Regions from separate parts of the Homo sapiens genome. Here region 1 is linked to region 2. The links are contacts of gene promoters, found by promoter capture Hi-C in blood cells and fetal thymus (Javierre and others, 2016). All regions are on one chromosome and are shown on one strand. The core of a region is centred on a gene start or on the middle of the fragment in contact, and the rest is flanking DNA. Distances in the headings are between cores, read along the strand shown. Region 1 overlaps RNF10 (ring finger protein 10). Region 2 holds the start of MSI1 (musashi RNA binding protein 1).

What was found. The method cuts DNA at HindIII sites, captures the fragments that hold promoters and counts their contacts. A CHiCAGO score of 5 or more calls a contact.
Region 1: a contact is called between a fragment that was not itself captured here and the fragment with the promoter of MSI1 in region 2, in 2 of 17 cell types (naive B cells and total CD8 T cells). The highest score is 5.1, in naive B cells.

The regions. Positions count from the first base shown.
Region 1 is chr12:120,560,431-120,565,166 of GRCh38, reverse strand. It overlaps RNF10 (ring finger protein 10), which reads right to left. Exons shown (of 17, transcript NM_014868.5): 7 at 4,281-4,441; 8 at 2,097-2,222; 9 at 1,544-1,820; 10 at 1,224-1,357; 11 at 1-95. Among named protein-coding and RNA genes, the nearest start is that of POP5, 19 kb to the left of the region's middle. The HindIII fragment of the contact is 487 bases long and covers 3,065-3,551 here.
Region 2 is chr12:120,367,550-120,372,304 of GRCh38, reverse strand. MSI1 (musashi RNA binding protein 1) reads left to right here and starts at 3,141. Exons shown (of 15, transcript NM_002442.4): 1 at 3,141-3,272; 2 at 3,432-3,472; 3 at 4,032-4,113; 4 at 4,213-4,297. The coding sequence starts at 3,214. It also overlaps the pseudogene RPS27P25. The HindIII fragment of the contact is 14,859 bases long and covers 1,656-4,755 here.

The DNA of each region.
Region 1 (4,736 bases), core at 2,059-4,558, 190 kb before region 2:
TTAGAGACCACAGGAGGTTGCAAAGCCAGTTCACAGATGCTGAACTCACAGGTGAGTGGCAAGTGAGAGAGATATCTGTGACGCTGTCGAACATCCTACATTGGAAAAAGGACCAATACTCAACAAAAGCAAGCCTAACTCTGAAAGCAGGGGGTCCTAACCCCGATATCCAACAATATATACATAACACAGCCAGCACTGGGGCTGGAAACAGTAGTGCTCAATTATCCTCATTTTGAAAAGCCAAAGAGAAACTGTCAACCTACAGCAAGGTGGAATAAGCAACCAAATCCAGTTATTTTTGGTTTGTACTGCAAAGGAGTGAACTGAGTCCAGCAACAAATAATCTAAAGCCCATCAGCTGTTTCTGATTTTTTCAAGGCCCCACAGCTGAGGGGGACGAACAGAGAAGATAAAGTTATTTGTTGGCAGAAAAACAGAACAGAAAAAAACCTGGGAACCACTGACAGAATAAATAACTGGGAAGGAAGATAAAGCAGATCTCCCTATTGAAAGACACTTGGCCTGAAATAGTAGAAAATGAAGCCCAATTTTTTTTTTCTGAGACATGGTCTTGCTCTGCCGCCCAGGCCAGCTCACTGCAGACTTGATCTCCCCAGCTCAGGTGATCCTTCTGCCTCAGCCTCCTGAGGAGCTGGGACAACAGGTGCACATCATCATACCCAGCTAATTTTTTTTTGTATTTTTTGTAGAAATGCCCTGGCTGGTCTGAAACTCCTAGCCTCAAGCAATCTGCCTGAGTAGGCCTCCCAAAAGTGCTGGGATTACAGGTGTGAGCTACCACATCCAGCCCATTTATTTTCATTTCTATTCTTTTTCTGCATATGTTTGATGAAAAATTTATAGTACTCAAAGAGTCTAATTTTAAATCTTACAACAAATTTGTGACATTTCTCCCAAGCAATAAGGAGGATAAGAAACAAAAATAAACTCCATCTTAAATAAAAGAAATATCTATATCCCCAAACTACAATCAATGAACCAGAGAAGCAGGGAACAGCATTAACTGATTTAACAGAACCCTGGCATGCTGAGGGGACACTTCACTTACAAAGAATTCACAGCACCATCACTGACAGAAAGACTAAAAATACAAAAACTAAAGGCCTTGAAGGTTTGTGAACTTAGGATGGCTAGGCCTACCTCAAAGAGATTAGGTTAATACTGCTGCCTGACCCTCCATTTCTACAGGAAGGCCTCACCTCAGACATGGAGTAGCCAGCAATCTCCACCACAGTTGCTGAGATCTTCTCGGGGCTCCTCTCCAGGCTGCCGTACTCCCGCACGAGGCAGCGCACATTCACAGGGTGCAGGAACATATGCTGTCCATCTTCCGCTGAGGACAAGGGGCTCTATCACACACCAGTCTTGGCCAGTCCCCAGGAGGCTCCCCACCCCTCCCCATGCCCAAGGGCTCAAGCCACCCAAGCCACAGGATCTAGTGGCGCTCCTCTGCTTAGAGCACCGGGTCACCTCTGAAACACCTCTGCGGCAACCCAGCCCTCTCTTCCGGCACCCTCACCTTGGTAAAAGTAGTAACAAGGAGAGCTGCTGAGGCGTGTGAAGCCTGACTTGGTGATGGGTTCCTGCTGGCTGGACTCAGTGCAAATGGTCCCCTCTTTAAGATTGTCATCTGCTAACTCCAAGTCATCACAGGCCTCTGGCAACCCCTCAGGCTCTGGTTCAGACACTGCTTCCTCCTCTTCTACCAGAGGGAGAGCAAGAGGTCTAGAAGGAGTGTCCAGAGAACAAACTTCCGTGGTTTCTTCATCGAAGGCAGACAGATACTCCAGCACACCCTGTTGCAGCAAACTCTAAGTCAACAGAAAGGATATCTCCTGCTTTCCGAAAGCAATGTGGCAAATGCAGACCTAAGAGCCAAGCTCCCTAGATGTTTATCTTAGCTGTCGTGTTCACTGATTTAACACCCCTGGGGAAAGAACTAATAACAAGCATACAGAAAATACTCATTGTCCCCTCTTCTCTTGAGAAGGTTTAGATCTCACAGTAATGCCTACCAGCTCAATGACAGCATTTGAGGAACGGCAGCCACTTAGTAACAGGAACACACTAACCTTCCTGGGTTGAAAAACAGACTCCTTCGCCAAGGGAGCCATCAGCACCAGTTGTTCCAGAGCAGCCACAACACCAGTGACCTCCCTTCTGCTTCCGGCCAATCCCGACAGAGCCTCTTCCCGAGTCTAACGTGGCCAGAGAGAACACCAGAGAAGGTTAAGTTTCCAGACACACACTTAGCTTGAAGGGCAAGGGCTTAGAATGGCCTCTCAACAGGACCAAAAGTTAAAAGGCAATGAGACCCAATGGGAAGGAATTAGGTGCTTAAATATCTCAACTTTGAGGGAAACAGGAAGCAAAAAGCATGCAATACCCACTAAGGATTGGAATCTGCTTAGAATCTGACACTGGGGAGTGTAAATTAGTTCAATCATTGTGGAAGACAGTGTGGTGATTCCTCAAAGACCTAAAGACAGAAATAAAATTTCACCCAGCAATCCCATTACTGGGTATATAGCCAAAGGAATATAAATCATTCTACTGTAAAGACACATACGGCCAGGTGTGGTGGCTCATGCCTGTAATCCCAGCACTTTGGGAGACTGAGGTGGGCGGATCACCTGAGGTTGGAAGTTCAAGACCACCCTGACCAACATGGAGAAACCCCATCTCTACTAAAAATACAAAATAACCCAGGCATGGTGGGGCATGCCTGTAATTCCTGCTACTCAGGAGGCTGAGGCAGGAGAATCACTTGAACCTTGGAGGCAGAGGTTGTGATGAGCCGAGATCACGCCACTGCACTCCAGCCTGGGCAACGAGAGCAAAACTCTGTCTCAAAAAAAAAAAAAAAAAAAAGAAAGAAAGAAAAAGAAAAACCAAATATCGCACACATGTTCTCACTTCTAAGTGGGAGCTAAATGATGAAACATGGACACATAGAGGGGAACACACACTGAGGCCTATCAGAGGGTGGAGAGTGGGAGGAGGGAGGGGATCAGGAAAAATAACCAATGGGTACTAAGCTTAATACCTGGGTGAAAATCTGTATAACAAACCCCCATGACACAGGTTTACCATGTAACAACCTGCATTTGTACCCCTGAACTTAAAAGTTAAAAAAAATAAAAGAGAATCTGACACAAACAACACTATACAAAAAACTTCCAGAACAGAAATCTAAGAACATGAAACTAACCTAGTTTTTACAAACTATGCTCAGACAGAGGTCCAGAGTAGTAGGAAGGATTTAGCTAACTCCACCTCAGCCTGGACAGCTCTAATTCTATGTAGCCTTTCTTATGCCTGTAATGGCATTTGAACAAATACGGCTGCAACGTATTATAGAAAGAAAGCAAAAGTTAAATACACAGGACTCTACCCAAGGAGCCCTTGGGAGTCAGGGAGAAGGGAATTCAAATACCAGCTGCATCCCTTACTAGCAAATTACCCAACCCAGGATTCAGTTTCCTCATCCATGAAAGGGGATAGTTCTATCTACCACACTAGAAGCTTAAGTGAGATAAATGTGTATAGCACAAGTCCTATCAAATGCTGATCACTCAATAAATATGGGCTTCTATTGCTCTAAGCTAGATCAGTGGTTCCAGGAGTGTGGTCTGGGGATGAGCAGCCATCAGAATCACCCTAGAACTTGTTATATGCAAATTACTGAGCCTACTGAGCTTAACCTATGCAATCAATATCTCAAAGTGGGACCTAACAACCAGTGGTTGTGATGCTTCAAGAATCTCTGTTGTGGAAGATAAAAGACCCAGGGAATTCTGTTCTTGTGTAATTCTTGCCGTTTCAGGTACTCCTAAGGCATACTGGGCAGGCCATAATACTTTCTCCACAATGTCTTTCAAAACACCTCTAGAATAGAATCTTAAGTATTTTCCCAGAAAACAAAGAACTCTAACTTGCTTTAAGAACATAGCTAATCTAAAAAACTCCACTGTCACAATTAGTTATAAAATCATTTTGACTTGCTCCTTTCAGCTCTAGAAAGAGCTTTAAAAGCCCTAGGTTAAACCTTCTCTACTGTCATCAAACAAAGCCCAAAACAAATTGGCTTTTTTAGCCATTCTCTGCTTATTGTCTTAAATGTGGAATGGAACTAACTTAATCCCCAGCGTCCATCATCTCACCCCCGACAGAGTGAAAAGGTTTAGCATTTCTGGTTTTCACCACAGAACGCCGAGAAAGTGAAAAGGTTTAGCATCTCCAATGCATCCTCTCACCTTGAGCTCCTGGATAGCTGCCTCAATAAAGCAGGACTCGGGAGTGTGCTTCTCCTCTGCCAGCTGCTGCTCTAGTGCTACTTTCTCCTCCAGAACTACCCGGTGCAGCACCTGCTCCTTAGAGGCCAGCAGCAACTTGGAGTACTGGCTGTGCTGTTCATCTATAAGAATGCCAGCAAGATCAAAGAAATGCAACATTCAAAGCTCACGATGGTGTAGCTAAATAGGAATTTTCAAATACAGCCTTTTCTCTGGGGTGAAAATGGGGTAATTTAGCATGATTTCCTAGAAAATAATTTAACAATGGTCTTAAAATAAGGTCTGTAGCTCTGCTCTTGATATAAGAAATCTAAGAAACCCAGAGATGTAGTCAAAACTTTAGTCACGCGTTTATTGTTACAGCATTGTATGTAATATCAGAAAAGCTCAAACCAGCCAGGCACCATGGCTCACACC
Region 2 (4,755 bases), core at 1,892-4,391:
AGAATGCAAGCTTTACAAAGGCAGCTGCTGGGACTACAACACCTAGGACAGTGTCTAGTACATAGAAGATGTTCGGTAAATACCTGTGCCAAGTTGCATAATATCATTTGCCCACTGTCTTTCTCAAGAGGATTTTTTAAAAACTATAAAGCAAATTCTTCTTTTATTCTTTGAGTGATGTTCTGTGTGTGTAGTACCAGAGAAAAAGAGCTGGAACCACATCCTCTAATCTCTTAATTCTGAAGTCTGGGCCTGTTGCTCTAAAGATCATTTTTCCTTAATACCACTGAGATCCTCAATTTACTATGAGGATCATGAGTTTACAACTGCATTGTCCTGTGAGGGCTACCTCTAGAAGGGCTTGTCGCCCCTATTGTGAACAAAGTGGACTGAAGCTGCTGCAGCTGAGATACACCTGCACTGAAAGAGGATTTGTCTAAGTCTAACCCATGTTACTGTGATACAAACAAGCTACTGACCAAAAGAGGTAGACGCTTCCTCCTCAGATTCTGAATGAATATGCTAATACATGGATCCTATCTCAAGCTACTTCTTACACAGCATTGGCTGACTCTGAACAGATGCCTTTACCCATTTCCTTTTTTTTTTTTAATCCAAAATGTGTTTATTGAGATGGTTTCCCACTCATCTTGATTCAGAGTGCTTTGGGTGCTGCTTCCTCCTGAAGGAACATCCTTCTGTAGCCTTCCTTTTCCTCCTGTAGGCTGGCAGAGAACAGTGGAGCAGGCAACACACAAAACTACCGTTTGTGCATGGCTACAGACCATGGTGATTTTATAGCATCCTGGGCATGTCATATCCATGAAGTAGGAATCGGGACTCTGCACCAGGCGTTTCTTCTTCTGTTTCCTCTTCTCTTCTGGAGAAGGATGAAGGAGATCCCTGTCGAGAGGCATGTTCTCGTGGGTAGGTCGCCACTGCCGGAAAGGACCCATTTCCTATCCTTCAAGCTCATCTGCCCAGCAGCACCAGCACACAAACCAAAGTCCAGGAACACTGGAAGATCCCTACTCCCCGCACCTCTCCAATGACCCTTTTTAAGTTCAGACCTAAGAAGAGTCACCTCCCTAATACCGCAGAGGCTACCTGCTCACCCTCATCTGTGTCTCTGCTACAACACAAACTGGAATGCTTTTGTGTCGGAATGGTAAGAAATGCCTTGTGTGGGTGGCCCTCCAGTCCCCAGTCCAGGGGATGCTGAGAAACTGTGGGGCAGAGTAGGGGACACAAACAGGAAAAAGCAAGTTTGTTTCTAGTGTTATGCTCACAGGGTGGCAGGATATACCTGCTGAGCATTCCCAGAAGGTCCCCAAGGAAACCATTACTGTAAGTCTCTCACTTTCTTCTCTGCCTGATGGTTGGGGTGGGGAGAGGGAAGGAGGGCTATCAAGAGGGGGATGGGCACCCTTCCAGAGGTCAGAGTTATGATGCCCAGGAATAAAAGGTGTTGAATTCAGGATGGAATGTGAAGGTGAACAGCAAAGGGCTTGTCAACATGGGTTGTCACTGGATTACACCGGATGGATTAAGGTAGGGATGGGGGAAGGAGTAGAAGGTGAGTTGGGAGGGAGGGGCTTGTGTGGCACTGAGACCCCCAGCAGGGATGGGGAGAAGGGGTGTTGGCCACCTAAGCTTCCTGGTTTGATCCTTTTTTGGCTGGTTTCAGCTGGGGAAGTGAAGGGTCCTAAGGCTTGGATATGGAGAGGTGGGAATATGGAGAGGTGGGGATATGGAGAGGCGGGGATAAGGAGAGGTGGGGATAAGGAGAGTGGCCCCGCAGCTCCCCTGGTGAACCAGAATACTTTCTCAGGGTTGTTCCCAGGCTGGAGGGAGGGAATTTTAGGGGTACGTAAGGTGACTCCAAGGAGCCTTGGGTGCAAGTACTGGGGGATCCCAGAGACCCAGAAGATGGGGGTAGAAAGGAAGGTGTTTGCCTTCACGGGGAGTAGCCTCAAAATAAGAGGGACTGAGGGAAGTCATTCCAAATGCAGTGGGTAGGTAGTTTAGGCTCTTCCAATGGGATGGGGTGGAGCTTAGACCTCTGCAAAAGAAGGGGGTCATTCGGAGGGGACGGTGCACAGCTGAGGCGTTGGGCTCCTAAACTGGAAACAGGAGGCTCTAAGAGGCACTGCCTTTTCCTCCAGCCTCGGTGTGGTGGGGGTGGTGAGTGTCTGGAACCGGGTTTCCCGAATCAGGACAGGAGTCTGAATGGATCTCACAAAAACCGGCCAGGGAGGGAGAGAACCAGGGGAGACTCCTCACACCGGGAGGTGGGGGTGGCGGCAAACTGAGAACCCGGGCTTGGGGCGCGGGATTTTCTCAACAGACCATAGGGTCCACTAATGTGGACGGCAGGGATTTGGGGAAACTAAGGGGGACTCTCACTTTGGACACCAAGGGCTGAGGACGGATTGGGGAAGAGGATACGGTTTCTACTGGGGTGCTGATGGAGGTTCCCCACTCGGGACGCGAGGCACTGAGTGGGTCCCCCAAACTGGATATGGGATCCTGGGAACGGAGCGAGGGCTCTAAATTAGAGCCCTGGGGTGGGGGTGGGGGGCTGTAAATTAGGTTGGGAGGAAACTGGGGGCTCTGAGGGCGGCTTCTCGCTCCGACTGGGGAAATGGAGCATGTGGGGACTGGGGAGCACTAGGGCTATCTCCCGCCCGACCCGAGGAGATTGGGGTTCTCTTCAATTCTGGACAGCAGGGACCTGAGAGGGAAGACCGGGGGGGTTCCCGATCCGGAACCGAGCTACCTTGAAGGCACCGGGAAGCGCTTCATTCCGGGAGGGCGTTCCCGCGGCCGGGCCCCCGCGCCGGGGTGGGTGGGGGGTGCGGCCGCGCCCTGGTCCCGGCCCGCACCGGGATTCGGGGGTCTCGCTCGGCCCCGGAGACCCAGGAGCCCCGCGGGAAGGGGGTCCCGGCGCCGCCGCCTCCGCGGGCGCCCGGGCTCGCGGGCGAGCGCGGGGCTTTATGCGCGCAGGGCGGCGGGGGGAGGAGCCGGCAGGTCGGCCCCCGGCGGGCCCTCCCCTCGGCCGTCCCCGCCCGCCCGCCCGAGCGGGGTCGGGGGAGGGGGCAGCATGGCCTGTCCGTCCGGCCCCCTTCGCCGCGCTCCTCATCTGCCCCGCGCCGAGCGCCGCCGCCGCCGCCGCCGCCGCCGCTCCGCTGCCCGCGCCGCCCGCGGCTCCCGATGGAGACTGACGCGCCCCAGCCCGGCCTCGCCTCCCCGGACTCGCCGCACGACCCCTGGTACGGCCCGGCCCGGCCTGCTTGGCCCGCGCCCGCCCCGGCCCCGCCAACATGGCCGATCCGGGTCCGGCCGGGCCTCCCCGGAGCCCGGGCCCGCGCCCCCTGCGCCCTGGCGCCCGGCGCTCACGCGGGCCCTTTGTGTCTCTCCTCCTCCCGCAGCAAGATGTTCATCGGGGGACTCAGTTGGCAGACTACGCAGGGTGAGCGAGCCCGGGAGCGCCCGCCGGTCCGGCAGGGCACCCCGGACCCCCCGGCGCCCCGGACCCGGACACCCCAGCCCGGCCCTGCGCCCTGCTGACCCCGGGCGCCCTCGCGCCCTCTTTCGCGCCCCGCCCGGAGACCCCGAGAGCGCAGGGCGATCCGCGAGCGCACCCGGCCCAGCGGGTGGAGGGGAGCAGATGAGGGGTTCAGGGGGTATCGGGGGGTGGGCTGGGCCCCCGGGACCCGCCGGCGGCAGCGCCAACTCCGCTCGCACCTGCGGCTCAAACTTTTGTGAGGCTGCTCCCGGAGCGGCGGGAACCCGGCCGGAGCCGTCCCCCTTCCAGCCCAGCTCGGCCCTCGGCTTCCCGGGGCCCCGGTGGGCGCCAGGAGGCTCAGCGGGAACGGGGCGAGGGCGGTGGGGGGCGGCGGCAGTGGAGAACGCGCGGGCAGCTTGGCGCGGGGGCGGCCGGGCCGCTCCGGGGTCACCGGGGGCAAAGGACGGGGGGGGGGGAAGGGCGCGGGGCCCGGGCTGGTCCGAAGGCGGGTGTGTGGTTACAGAAGGGCTGCGCGAATACTTCGGCCAGTTCGGGGAGGTGAAGGAGTGTCTGGTGATGCGGGACCCCCTGACCAAGAGATCCAGGTGAGCCCCTCACCCCCTCCTCCTGCTCCCGGCTCGCCCCCCTCCACCCGCCACTCACTGCCTTGTAACCATCTGCCTCTCCCTCACTACGGCGCGCAGGGGTTTCGGCTTCGTCACTTTCATGGACCAGGCGGGGGTGGATAAAGTGCTGGCGCAATCGCGGCACGAGCTCGACTCCAAAACAGTGAGTGGCCCTCGGGGCTTCGGGGGTCCTTTGGGAGAGGGAGGCTGCCGGAGGAGAGGGTCAGGACTCTCCCCAGGGGACAGCTGGACGGGGTCCATGAGGAAGGAGGGAGTTTTTCTGAGTAAGAGGGCTGCCATGCTCTGAAACTTTGTCACTAGAGTTGGGGGGGAGAGGGAGGAGAAAAATCCCTGGCCTGCCATGAGATGCTACATCCCCCCTCCCCTAGTCCTGGTGAGGGGAGAGGCAGCCGCCACCCTCTCCCTAGAAGTACTAATCATGATGCCTCAGAGCAGAGCTTGGGGTGGGGCTAGGTCCCTCCCCCAGCCCAAATTGGGTGAGTCAGGGTAGCACTGACCCACCCGGTGGCTTCTGTGAACTCTAACTAGTATTTGGCTCTGCGACACCCCCTCTTCATCCAGACCAATGGCAAAGCATCCCTTGAAGCCCCCTCCCTCTCT